3 separate regions of the Homo sapiens genome follow, and all the other regions are linked to region 2. The links are contacts of gene promoters, found by promoter capture Hi-C in human tissues and cell types (Jung and others, 2019). All regions are on one chromosome and are shown on one strand. The core of a region is centred on a gene start or on the middle of the fragment in contact, and the rest is flanking DNA. Distances in the headings are between cores, read along the strand shown. Region 1 holds the start of GNA11 (G protein subunit alpha 11). Region 2 holds the start of LMNB2 (lamin B2). Region 3 has its middle 4.9 kb from the start of S1PR4.

Evidence for each region. The method cuts DNA at HindIII sites, captures the fragments that hold promoters and counts their contacts. A contact is called where the count stands out against the background at its distance.
Region 1: the fragment with the promoter of GNA11 here is called in contact with the fragment with the promoter of LMNB2 in region 2 in 1 of the 25 tissues and cell types used here (spleen).
Region 3: a fragment that was not itself captured here is called in contact with the fragment with the promoter of LMNB2 in region 2 in 1 of the 25 tissues and cell types used here (dorsolateral prefrontal cortex).

Annotation. Positions count from the first base shown.
Region 1 is chr19:3,092,239-3,096,724 of GRCh38, forward strand. It overlaps GNA11 (G protein subunit alpha 11), which reads left to right and starts at 2,124. Exons shown (of 7, transcript NM_002067.5): 1 at 2,124-2,549. The coding sequence starts at 2,414. RefSeq lists silencers at 1,793-2,042, 2,063-2,182, 2,503-2,632, 3,787-3,876 and enhancers at 1,929-2,916, 2,917-3,902, 3,903-4,486. The HindIII fragment of the contact is 21,058 bases long and covers 1-4,486 here.
Region 2 is chr19:2,455,375-2,459,705 of GRCh38, forward strand. LMNB2 (lamin B2) reads right to left here and starts at 1,585. Exons shown (of 12, transcript NM_032737.4): 1 at 1,296-1,585. The coding sequence starts at 1,559. LINC01775 (long intergenic non-protein coding RNA 1775) reads right to left here. Exons shown (of 2, transcript NR_134931.1): 2 at 3,563-3,726. RefSeq lists an enhancer at 1-313 and silencers at 574-753, 984-1,073, 1,134-1,383, 1,504-1,683. The HindIII fragment of the contact is 70,551 bases long and covers 1-4,331 here.
Region 3 is chr19:3,171,562-3,176,174 of GRCh38, forward strand. No RefSeq gene overlaps it. Among named protein-coding and RNA genes, the nearest start is that of S1PR4, 4.9 kb to the right of the region's middle. The HindIII fragment of the contact is 3,498 bases long and covers 1,615-4,613 here.

The sequences.
Region 1 (4,486 bases), core at 874-3,373, 640 kb after region 2:
TGGCCACTCTGGTGTTTTGTTTTGTTTTGTTTTGATACAGGGTCTCACTCTTGTGTCCCAGGCTGGAGTGCAGTAGCCCCATCTCCGCTCACTGCAACATCTGCCTCCTGGGCTCAAGTGATCCTCTCAGCCTCCCGAGTAGCTGGGATTACAGGCATGTGCCACCACACCCATCTAATTTTTTGTATTTTTAGTAGAGATGGGGTTTCGCCATGTTATCTAGGCTGGTCTCGAACTCCTGAGCTCAAGCGGTCCACCTGCCTTGGCCTCCCAAGTACTGGGATTACCGGCAGGAGCTGCCGCACCTGGCCAGAACATACAATTTCAAGTTGTGGCTCAAGAGAAGGTACCTGGCTTGGTCTGAGGAGTCAGGAGAAGTCTCCCTGAGGAGCTGACGTCTGAATTGAAACGGAGAGGATGCTCAGGGGTTGGCCAAGGAGGCCAGAGAGGGAAAAGGGTTTTCAGTAGTCAGCAAGGTGGTGGGAACACACGTTTTTATAAATTCTGGTGGCCACTTCCATTTCATCTGCAAAGTAAGGATAAAGATATGGCTGGGTGAGGTGGCTCACATCTATAATCCCAGCGCTTTGGGAGGCCGAGGAGGGCAGATCACTAGAGGCCAGGAGTTTGAGACCAGCCTGGCCAACGTGGCGAAACCCGCTCTCTACTAAAAATACAAAATTAGCCAGGCATGGTGGCGCGCCTGTAATCCCAGCTACTTGGGAGGGTGAGGCAGGAGAATCACTAGAGCCTGTGAGGCAGAGGGTGCAATGAACCTAGATCACGCCCCTGCACTCCAGCCTGGGCGACAGAGCAAGACTCCATCTCAAAAAAAGAAGAAGAAAAAAAAGATATCCCTTGGGTAGGGTTAGCTTAACGGGCTTACAGCAGTGCCTGGTATCCTGTAGGCATTTCATGAATGCGTATACCTGGCCTGGAATGGTGCAGGCACTGCAGTAAGGCCTGATTGACACCTGATGGACAGCAGGCACTCCATTAATCTCTGGTCCGTGCCTGGCATATAGAATGTGTCCCATTAATGCCTGATACACAGTAGGTGTCCCATTAACGCTTTTTAATTTTTTTTTTTGAGACAGAGTCTCGCTCTGTCGCCCAGGCTGGAGTGCAGTGGCATGATCTCAGCTCACTGCAAGTTCCGTCTCCCGGGTTCACGCCATTCTCCTGCCTCAGCCTCCCGAGTAGCTGGGACTACAGGCGCCCGCCACCACGCCCGGCTAATTTTTTGTATTTTTAGTAGAGACGGGGTTTCACCGTGTCAGCCAGGATAGTCTCGATCTCCTGACCTCGTGATCCACCCGCCTCGGCCTCCCAAAGTGCTGGGATTACAGGCGTGAGCCACCGCGCCCGGCCCTCTTTTTTTTTTTTTTTCTTTGGAGACGGAGTTTCGTTCTTGTTGCCCAGGCTGGAGTGCAATGGCGTGATCTCGGCTCACTGCAACCTCCGCCTCCTGGGTTCAAGTGATTCTCCTGCCTCAGCCTCCCGAGTAGCTGGGATTACGGGCGTGCACCACCACGCCGGGCTAATTTTGTAGTTTTAGTAGAGACGGCGTTTCTCCCTGTTGGTCAGGCTGGTCTCGAACTCCAGACCTCAGGTGATCCGCCCGCCTCGGCCTTCCAAAGTGCTGGGATTACAGGCGTGAGCCACCGCGCCCGACCTCCATTAACGCTTTTTAATGGATGAGTGAAGGTTCCTGTCAGGCAATGTCAGGGCGCTTCCCGGGGGCAGCGACTGCTGCCCAGGCACCTGGAGACCCAGAGAGCGCAGCGGCCGCGTGCGCGCCTCCGCCACCGCGCCTGGGCCGAGCCGAGCGGGACCGAGCGGGGCCGAACGGAGCCGAGCGGAGCCGAGCCTGGCCGGGCCGAGTCCGCCACATTCCCACAATCCCGGGCGGCCCCGCCCCGGCTCCCGGCTGCGCGTCCCCCTTCCCACGTCGGCGCAACCAAACCCGCGGGCCCCCCGCCCTCGCCCCGCCCCGCCCCTTTCGCGCCCGCCGACGCCCCGCCCAGGCCGCTAGTCCCGCCCCCATGGTGGGCGCGCTTGGCCGCCGGCCCCTCCCATTGGCCGCACCGTCTGCCCGTCGCGGGCTGCGCTCCCAGCCTGCTAGGTTGTCCGGCGCTGTCGCTCGGTTGCGGCGGCTGCGGTTGGCGGTGGCTGCGGCGGCGGCGCGGGCTGAGTGCGGCCGCGCGGGAGTCCGCGGCTGGCGCGGCCCGAGCGGGGACCCGGCGGCTCGCCAGGCGGCGGCCGAGGCGGGGCGGGCCGGCCCGGGGCCGAGGGCCGGTGGCCGAGGCCGGAGGGCCGCGGCGGGCGGCGGCCGAGGCGGCTCCGGCCAGGGCCGGGCCGGGGGCCGGGGGGCGGCGGCGGGCAGGCGGCCGCGTCGGCCGGGGCCGGGACGATGACTCTGGAGTCCATGATGGCGTGTTGCCTGAGCGATGAGGTGAAGGAGTCCAAGCGGATCAACGCCGAGATCGAGAAGCAGCTGCGGCGGGACAAGCGCGACGCCCGGCGCGAGCTCAAGCTGCTGCTGCTCGGTGAGTGCGGCCCCCGGGCCTGCCGGCTGCGGGCCCTGCCCTGCCTGTGCCTGCCCTGCCTGTCCGGGTCGGGCCGGGACCCTCCGGGGTCAGCCCTGCCTGTGCCGTCCGGGTCGCGAGACCCTCCGGGGTCAGCCCTGCCTGTGCCTTCCCTGCCTGTCCGGGTCGCGGGACCCTCGAGTGTCAGCCCTGCCTGTGCCTTCACTGCCTGTCCGGGTCGGGGCGGGGCCCTCCGGGATCAGCCCTGCCTGTGTCGTCTGGGTCGGCTCGGGACCCTCTGGGGTCAGCCCTGCCTTTGCTGTCTAGGTCGGCACCTGGGACCCTCCGGGGTCAGCTGCGGGCCCCTGATTTCTTTGGGGTCAGCCCCTGCCTTAACTGTTCATGTTGGCACCTGGGACTCTCCGGTGTCAGCCTGTGTCTGTCCTGTCTGGATCAGGCCCCCGATCACTCCTAGGTCAGCTCCCAGCTTCTGCTGTCTACATTGGGCCTCCAGGACTCTTCAGGATTTGCCCTCTGTTCCTTCTCAAGGGACCAGTCCCTCCCTGCACAGGGACCTTCTGACCTTACCCCACCGGAGTACCCACCCCTCGCTACCCCTTCAGGGCCAGACCTTTGGGCTGTAACCCACAGGGCACACTCACCCCTCACTGCTCAGGGCCCCGCGTTGACCCTTCCCTCCAGGCAGAGCCCTGTACACTCCATGCAGGCCCTGTACCCTCCATGCAGGCCCTGTACACCCCCCCATCCCCCCGAAGACTCCTCCGTGTCCCCTATCCCCACATTCCCTTCAGGGCCATTCTCCTGCCTTCCTGTTCCGGGAAACCCCGTACTCCTCTTGGCTGGAATGCACCCTGTGGGAAAAAGACAGTCTTTCCTCTCCTCAGGGTTCCGCTCAGCTGAGGGTGGGGCGGTTGACACCTGAGGGAGCCTTTGCTTGTTGTCCCAAGCAGCTATCTCGGCAGCCTCCCCCGCCCCCTTCCTTAGAGTCCTGGTGGGAGCCACGCTGAGTCCTCGTTGAGAGCAGCCCCCCACCTGCCGGCTCCTCCCCACCGTCCTGGAGAAGGTTTGCTGGTGAACCTCCTTCTCCCCAAGGCACACCTGCTGCAGGGAGCCAGTCGGGCCAGCTGTAAAGTGTTGTCACTCCAAATAAGGGCCCCTTCAGTGGTTTACAAAACAGAAGCTCTTGCCCTGCCCCGCCCCTGCCCTCCCGAGCTCCTAGGTTAGCTCCTGGGCCGGGGGCGGGGCGGTGGGGAAGGTCGGAAATGCGTGAGAGGCAGCGGTGACGGAGGAGGGGGCGTGCTGGTGGCGGTGGCTCTTGGGGAGGAGGCAGGTCGCATGTTGTGTGGGGAACACGTTGCCTCTCCTGCCGTGAGCCTCTTAGGGCCCTCCGTGTCCCGGGTTACAGAGGTGCCTTGGATGAAACGCCTTCCTGATTTTTTTCCCCAAACTTGTGTTTTGATTTACCTAAGGGTTCTAAAATGGGCCATCTTTCCAGGGGGCCGCGGGTAGGCAGAGCCGTGGTCCTCACGTTTGGAGGAAATGTGCAGTGCGGCCCGCGTGGTGGCACTTTGCACAGAGTGGCACTGGCTGGCTTTTGTAGTGGGTCGTGGACTTTGTTTGGATGGAGGGGAGTTAGGAATTACTGGTGTCATAAAGATCTTACCAGATGGCCTTGCCCTGTGGCTCTGTGACCTCCAGAACCCCCGCCGCCATCCCTGCATGCACCCGGTCTTCTGTGCCTGCACTTTGGACTTGAGATTGACACGGGGTTCAAGGACGAAGGTCAGGGGCTCCCGTGTCTGCCGCCTTGGCTGCTTGGAGCAAGTCTGGAAGTGATGCGGCCCTTCCCGCATCCTCTGTCCAGTGCCCGCCTGTGGCCCGGGGGTGTCTGCTGCAGGAGCACCTGTGTCTGCAGTCCCACCCCCTCCCACTCTGTG
Region 2 (4,331 bases), core at 335-2,834:
TCATCCCCAGAGACTCCCACTCACACCCCCTCAGTTGGGGGGGGTCCGCCAAGTCTCCTTGGAATCCTCTGAGGGACGAGGCATATGGGGGGCTGCAGCCCAATACTCAGGGAGCCCCCAAATCCCCAGGACCTCTCTTTGGTGGGGAGCCCTAGTCTGTAACCCCCATGGCCCCAAAATGCACCTCTCACGGAAGGGTCCCCAGAGCTAGCTGGAGGCCCCTCTGCAGCCCTCACTCAGGACACGGAAGATCTCCTGGGACCCCCTCCATAGGTGGGGCATTCCTGGTCTGCACTTTTCACTCAGTGCCCTAGAAACCCCCTGGAGGTCCCCAAGAGAATGGGCCACTCCGGTCTGCACCCCTCCCAAGGGGTCCCCCAAGATCTCGGAAACTGCGGTGGGCAGGGCCTGCCCAGGTGGCACCCCTCACTCAGGGTCTCCCCCTGGAGATCCCCGAGGCCAGGCTGACCCCACCCCTGCTCAGGGTCCCCCGTGATCGCGTACTCCGCGGTGGGCTGGGCCTGGCCGAGCTGCACCCCTCACTCAGGGACCCCTTGAAACCCCCTGGAGACCCCCAAGCCGGGACCCTTCCCGGTCTGCACCCCTGCCCAGGGTCCCCGCGATCGCGCACCCCGCGGTGGCCAGGACCTGCACCCTTCATCCAGGAGCCCCCCGCAAACCCCCTGGAGACCCCAAGCCGGGAGTCGTTCAGAGTCCCCCGCGATCGCGCGCCCCGTGGTGGGCGGGGCCTGGCCGAGTAGCACCTTTCACTCAGGGACTCTCCGAAACGCGGCGGAGATCCCCGAGGCCGGACTGTCCCCGTCTGCATCCCAGCTCAGGGTTCCCCGCGACTGGGAGCCCCGCAGTGGGCTGGGCCTAGCCGAGCAGCACCCCTCACTCAGAAGCCCCCAAACCTCCTGGAGACCCCCGAGCCGGAGCCTGTCCCCGTCTGCACCCCCGCCCAGGGTCCCCGCGATCACGCACCCCGCGGTGGGCGGGGCCTGGCCGAACTGCACCGCTCACTCAGGGGCCCCTCGAAACCCCCTGGAGACCCTCGAGACCCGGGCCCGTCCCTGTCTGCACCCAGGGTCCCAGCGATTGCCCACCCCGCGGTGGGAGGGACCTGGCCGAGCTGCACCCCTCACTCAGGGGCCCCCCGAAACCCCGCGGAAACCCCCGAAGCCGGGGCCCGTCCCCGTCTGCACCCCCGCCCAGGGTCCCCGCGATCGCGCGCCCCGCGGTGGGCGGGGCCTGCCGGCTGCACCCCCGCCCGGCCCCTAAGCCCCGGCGCCCACCTCGCGCGTGGTCACCTCCTCCTTCTCTGAGATCTTGAGCAGGAGCCGGTCGTTCTCCAGCTCCAGCGCGCGGACGCGGTCGATGTAGTGCGCCAGGCGGTCGTTGAGCTCGCGCAGCTCCTCCTTCTCCTGCAGCCGCGACAGGCGCGTGGGCGACAGCGGCGTGGCGGGCCCGCCCGCGCGGCCGGGCAGCGGCGTGGCCATGGTGGCGGCGGCTCGCGGCCTGCGCTGCTCCCGACGGCGGCCCGGGCTCGGCGGGCTCATTCAATCCGCGCCGCCGGCTGCAAGATGGCGCCGCGCCGCGCCGCGCCCGCCGCCCGCCGCGGCGGGGCAGCCTGGGACTGGTAGTCCGACCGCCGGGCGCGCGCGGGGCACGCCGGAAGTTGAAGTCTCCGTCCAGCTCTCGCTTCGCAGAGGCGCTGACTCCAGAGACAGACTTCCTGGCTGCAAACTCCCAGCTCCGCCACGAGGAAACAGCGTTGGGTTGCTTTCTAGTACCTGTTTCCCCACTTAGAGAACCTCAAAACGTGTTCAAAGAACCAGACACAAAAGGCCATATAGGGCCGGGCGTGGTGGCTCACGCCTGTAATCCCAGCACTTTGGGAGGCCAAGGCCGGTGGATCACTTGAGAAAAGAATTTCGAGATCAGCCTGGACCACATAGGGAGACCCCCCCACACCATCTCTACTACGGAGGCGCGCGCCGGTAATCCCAGCTACTTGGGAGGCTGAGGCAGGAGAATCTCTTGAACTTGGGACGTGGAGGTTGCAGTAAGCCAAGATCGCGGCACTGCACTCCAGCCTGGGCAACAATGAGAAACTTTGTCTCAAAAAAAAAAAAAAAAAAAAAAAAAAGCCATATAGTGTACAATGCCACTGATATAAAATGTCCAGAAGAGGCTGTCAAGGAGTATGAATTTCAACAAATTGAGTTTAATGATCTCATTGGCTCTTATTAGCAATTCATGAATTGGATAGCATTCAATCTATTAAATAGGCACTCCAATGAGCTGAGCAGAGAGGATGGGCATTCTGCATTACAGGCAGAAAAGGCTGAAGAAAGGAGAAATAAGAATTAAAATAAAAGCCAGGCCAGGTACAGTGGTTTGCTCACGCCTGTAATGCCAGCACTTTGGGAGGCGGAGGTGGGAGGATAGCCTGAGCCCAGGAGTTTGAGACTGGCCTGGGCAACATAGCAAGACCCCATTTCTAAAAATAAAAATAAAAAAATTAGCCAGGTGCAGTGGCTCACACCTGTATTCCCAGCACTTTAGGAGGCCAAGCCGGGCAGATCATGAGGTCAGGAGTTCGAGACCAGCCTGACCAATATGGTGAAATCCCGTCTCTACTAAAAATACAAAAATTAGCCAGGCATGGTGGCACATGCCTGTAGTCTCAGCTACTCGGGAAGCTGAGGCAGGAGAATTGCTTTAACCCGGGAGGCGGAGGTTGCAGGGAGCCAAGATTGAACCACTGCACTCCAGCCTAGGCAACAGAGTAAGACTCCACCTCAAAAAAAAAAAAAAAAAAAAATTAGCTGGGCGCCTATAGTCCTAGGTATTTGGGAGGCTAAGGTGGCAGGATTGTTTGAGCAAGAGAGGTCAAGGTTGCAGTGAGCCCTGATCACATCACTGCATTCCAGCCTGGGTGACAGAGTGAGAGTTTGTCTCAAAAAAAGTAAAAATAAAAATACGAAATAAAAACCAATTGGTTGTTTCAAAGTTACTTTTTTCATAGGGTCTGTTTTAACCCCCTCTATTTTGAGGGTACTTCCCTATCAGGTTAACCGGTCCCCTTTGGCTTGGTGGCTGTGAATGTTTTTTTTTGAAAACCTGCACCCTTTAAAGTTCAGTTTGAGGCCAGGTACGGGTGGCTCTCACCTGTAATCTCAGCACTTTGGGAGGCTGAGATGGGGAGATCGCTTAAGCCTAGGAGTTTGAGAACATCCTGGGCAACATAGTGAGACTCTGTCTCCAAAAAAAAAAATTTTTTTTTTTTGGAGACAGAGTCTTGCTCTTGTCACCCAGGCTGGAGTGCAATGGCATGATCTCGGCTCACTGCAACCTCCACCTCCTGGGTTCAAGCAATTCTCTGCCTCCCGAGTAGCTGGGATTACAGGCACCCGCCACCATGCCCAGCTAATGTTTGTATTTTTAGTAGAGACCTGGTTTCACCATCTTGGCCAGGCTGGTCCTGAACTCCTGACCTCGTGATCCACCCACCTCGACCTCCCAAAGTGCTGCAGTTACAGGCGTGAGCCACGGCACCCAGCCAAAAAAATTTTTAATAATTAGCCACATGTGCTGGCACACACCTGTAGTCCCAGCTCCTCGGGAGGCTGAGGCAGGAGAATGGCTTGCATCCAGGAGTTCAAGTCTGCAGTCAGCCATGATTGCGCCACTGCACTCCAGTGTGGGCAACGGAGCGAGACCCTATTTCAAAAAATAAAAAAAATAAAAGATCAGTTTGACTACGTGGTACCTGGCACTAGTGACTCCATTCCAATTTTATCTGGTCTGCTGGGGACTAGAGACCCCATTGTCTAAAACAATGGCCTGCCATACATTTTATTTAACAAGGCCAGGCGCGGTGGCTCATGCCTGTAATCTCAGCACTTTGGGAGGCCGAGGCGGGCAGACCACCTGAGGCCAGGAGTTCGAGACCAGCCTGGCCAAAATGGCAAAAACCTGTCTCTCCAAAAAGTACAAAAATTAGCCAGGCGTGGTGGTGTACGCCTGTAATCCCAGCTACTTGGGAGGCTGAGGCACGAGAATCGCTTGAACCCAGGAGGCAAAGGTTGCAGTGAGCTGAGATCACACCACTGCACTCCAGCCTGGGCGACAGAGCAAGACTCCGTCTCCAAAAAAAACCCCCCAAAATTGTAATTTAACAAGACAACCTATACAGCAGTGTTTCTCCAACTCTGCACTAGATATTTGGGGCCAGATCACTCTCTGTTGCAGGGGGTTGGAGTCAGGAGGTGCTGTCCATTACAGGGTATTGAGCAGCATCCTCGGTCTCCACCCACTCCATGCCA
Region 3 (4,613 bases), core at 2,114-4,613, 720 kb after region 2:
GATCAAGGGTCAAGGTCTGGGTTTGTCCATTATCATAGGCTAAGTCAGGGTCAGGGTTCAGCCAGGGATCAGGGCTCAGTTCAGGATTGGGGCTCAGCCAGGGTCAGGGCTCATCTTGGAGTCAGAGCTGAGCCTGGGGTCAGGCATCAGTCTAGGTTGGAGGTTGGGATTGGGACCTGGGGGTCTTGGTCCAGGATTGGAGGCTGTGTCTGGGATTAGGGTTCAGTCTAGGATGTGGACCAAGCCTGGGATCAGCATTCAGTCCAGGGTAGGGGGCTGAGCCTGGGATTAGGGCTTAGTCTTGGATGTGGACTGAGCCTGGGATGAGAGCTCAGTCCAGGGATTAGGGCTCAGTCTAGGATGGGGACTGGGCTTGGGATGCAGGCTCAGTACAGAGTGGGGGGCTGGTCCTGGGATCAAGGCTCAGTCTAGGACGGGGGCTGGGCCTGGGACTCAGCAATCAGGACTCAGTCTAGGATGAGGGACTAAGCCTTGGATCAGTGTTCAGTGCAGAGTGGGGGGCTGGGCCTAGGAGCAGGGCTCAGTCAAGCATAGGGGGCTTAGCCTGGGATCAGGGCTTAGTCCATCATGAGGCACTCAACCTCAGAACACACAATGTCTCTCTGTGTAGGTGCCTGAGTCATGTGAGGCTGGACTGAGGCTCACTTGTCTACTCACTGGGCAGGGCAGTGCCTGGGCAAGACCTGGCTGTTTGTTTCCCTCCTGGCCTCACCTCCCAGCTGCCGGCCCCTCCTCCCCGAGCCCCACATCCCTCTCCAGATCCCCTTTCTGCTTGGTGACCTCCAGTGACAAAAGGCAGCTGCCTCCCCAGTCAGTTCCTCGCATGGAGCCTCCCGACACTGTCCTGCTTCAGAACTGAACCGTAAGCAAAGGGAGGGGCCATGGGGCCCCAGCATGTGCTGCGATCAGCCCCCGTCTCCTGCCAGCCCTGCCCTCCCTGGGGTGCCCCCGCTTCTCAGGGCCGATACTGTGCCGCTCATGGGACGCCTGTGTTCTCATGGGACGTCTGTGCCCTCATGGGACACCTGTGCCCCTCATGGGAGGCCTGTGTTCTCATGGGACGCCTGTACCCCTCATGGGACGCCTGTACCCCTCATGGGACGTCTGTGTTCTCATGGGATGCCTGTGCCCTCATGGGATGGCTGTGTTCTCATGGGACGCCTGTACCCTCATGGGACGCCTGTGCCCCTCATGGGACGCCTGTGTTCTCATGGGATGCCTGTACCCTCATGGGACGCCTGTGCCCCTCATGGGACACCTGTGTTCTCATGGGACACCTGTGCCCCTCATGGGATGCCTGTACCCTCATGGGATGCCTGTGCCCCGCATGGGATGCCTGCATTCTCATGGGACACCTGTGCCCTCATGGGACACCTGTGTTCTCATGGGACACCTGTGTTCTCATGGGACACCTGTGCCCTCATGGGACGCCTGTGCCCTCATGGGACAACTGTGTTCTCATGGGACGCCTGTGTTCTCATGGGACGCCTGTGCCCTCATGGGATGCCTGTGTTCTCATGGGACGCCTGTGCCCCTCATGGGATGCCTGTGCCCTCATGGGACGCCTGTGTTCTCATGGGATGCCTGTGCCCCTCATGGGATGCCTGTGTTCTCATGGGACGCCTGTGCCCCTCATGGGATGCCTGTGTTCTCATGGGATGCCTGTGCCCCTCATGGGATGCCTGTGCCCTCATGGGACACCTGTGTTCTCATGGGACACCTGTGCCCTCATGGGACGCCTGTGTTCTCATGGGACGCCTGTGCCCTCATGGGATGCCTGTGCCCTCATGGGACGCCTGTGACCTCATGGGATGCCTGTGTTCTCATGGGACGCCTGTGTTCTCATGGGACGCCTGTGCCCTCATGGGACGCCTGTGTTCTCATGGGACGCCTGTGCCCTCATGGGATGCCTGTGCCCTCATGGGATGCCTGTGCCCTCATGGGACGCCTGTGTTCTCATGGGACGCCTGTGCCCCTCATGGGACGCCTGTGCCCTCATGGGACGCCTGTGCCCTCATGGGACGCCTGTGTTCTCATGGGACGCCTGTGCCCCTCATGGGACGCCTGTGCCCTCATGGGACGCCTGTGCCCTCATGGGACGCCTGTGTTCTCATGGGACGCCTGTGCCCCTCATGGGACGCCTGTGTTCTCATGGGACTCCTGTGCCCTCATGGGACGCCTGTGTTCTCATGGGACGCCTGTGCCCCTCATGGGACGCCTGTGTTCTCATGGGACGCCTGTGCCCTCATGGGACGCCTGTGTTCTCATGGGACGCCTGTGCCCCTCATGGGACACCTGTGTTCTCATGGGACGCCTGTGCCCTCATGGGACGCCTGTGTTCTCATGGGACGCCTGTGCCTCTCATGGGACACCTGTGTTCTCATGGGACGCCTGTGCCCTCATGGGACGCCTGTGCCCTCATGGGACACCTGTGTTCTCATGGGACGCCTGCATTCTCATGGGACGCCTGTGCCCTCATGGGACACCTGTGTTCTCATGGGACACCTGTGTTCTCATGGGATGCCTGTGCCCTCATGGGATGCCTGTACCCCTCATGGGACGCCTGTGTTCTCATGGGATGCCTGTACCCTCATGGGACGCCTGTACCCCTCATGGGACATCTGTGCCCTCATGGGATGCCTGTGCCCCTCATGGGATGCCTGTGCCCTCATGGGACGCCTGTGTTCTCATGGGATGCCTGTACCCTCATGGGACGCCTGTGCCCCTCATGGGATGCCTGTGTTCTCATGGGATGCCCGTGCCCCGCATGGGACGCCTGAATTCTCATGGGACACCTGTGCCCTCATGGGACACCTGTGTTCTCATGGGACGCCTGTGTTCTCATGGGACACCTGTGCCCTCATGGGACGCCTGTGTTCTCATGGGACGCCTGTGCCCTCATGGGACGCCTGTGTTCTCATGGGACGCCTGTGCCCTCATGGGACGCCTGTGCCCTCATGGGACGCCTGTGTTCTCATGGGACGCCTGTGCCCCTCATGGGACGCCTGTGCCCTCATGGGACGCCTGTGTTCTCATGGGACGCCTGTGCCCCTCATGGGACGCCTGTGTTCTCATGGGACGCCTGTGCCCTCATGGGACGCCTGTGCCCTCATGGGACGCCTGTGCCCTCATGGGACGCCTGTGTTCTCATGGGACGCCTGTGCCCTCATGGGACGCCTGTGCCCTCATGGGACGCCTGTGTTCTCATGGGACGCCTGTGCCCTCATGGGACGCCTGTGCCCTCATGGGACGCCTGTGTTCTCATGGGACGCCTGTGTTCTCATGGGACGCCTGTGCCCCTCATGGGACGCCTGTGTTCTCATGGGACGCCTGTGCCCTCATGGGACGCCTGTGTTCTCATGGGACGCCTGTGCCCCTCATGGGACGCCTGTGTTCTCATGGGACGCCTGTGCCCCTCATGGGACACCTGTGCCCTCATGGGACGCCTGTGCCCTCATGGGACGCCTGTGTTCTCATGGGACGCCTGTGCCCCTCATGGGACGCCTGTGCCCTCATGGGACGCCTGTGTTCTCATGGGACGCCTGTGCCCCTCATGGGACACCTGTGTTCTCATGGGACGCCTGTGCCCTCATGGGACGCCTGTGTTCTCATGGGACGCCTGTGCCCCTCATGGGACACCTGTGTTCTCATGGGACGCCTGTGCCCTCATGGGACGCCTGTGTTCTCATGGGACGCCTGTGCCCCTCATGGGACACCTGTGTTCTCACGGGACGCCTGTGCCCTCATGGGACGCCTGTGTTCTCATGGGACGCCTGTGCCCCTCATGGGACGCCTGTGTTCTCATGGGACGCCTGTGCCCCTCATGGGACACCTGTGCCCTCATGGGACGCCTGTGCCCTCATGGGACGCCTGCGTTCTCATGGGACGCCTGCATTCTCATGGGACGCCTGTGCCCTCATGGGACACCTGTGTTCTCATGGGACACCTGTGTTCTCATGGGATGCCTGTGCCCTCATGGGATGCCTGTACCCCTCATGGGACGCCTGTGTTCTCATGGGATGCCTGTACCCTCATGGGACGCCTGTACCCCTCATGGGACATCTGTGCTCTCATGGGATGCCTGTGCCCCTCATGGGATGCCTGTGCCCTCATGGGACGCCTGCATTCTCATGGGACACCTGTGCCCTCATGGGATGCCTGTACCCTCATGGGACGCCTGTGCCCCTCATGGGATGCCTGTGTTCTCATGGGATGCCTGTGCCCCTCATGGGACGCCTGCATTCTCATGGGACACCTGTGCCCTCATGGGATGCCTGTACCCTTCATGGGACGCCTGTGTGTGGTTGCCATGATTACTACCTGAGACTGTCACTACGACAGTTACTATTGTTACTACTTGAGACCATCATTACAAGACTGAACGAAGGGACGAATGTAGAAATGAAAACTTAAGACAGAAGAAACTGTTTTAAAGGAAGGGACCAGGGGAAGAAAAAGAGAGCTCCCTGCTTCTAGTGAGCAAAGGCAGCCCCCCAAGCTTCTACAGCCCTTCGTACTTATTGGGTAGAAAGCAGGGGGAGGAAACGATTGGCCAGCTGCTTGATTGTTCACACGTTCACGTTATTGCTAAC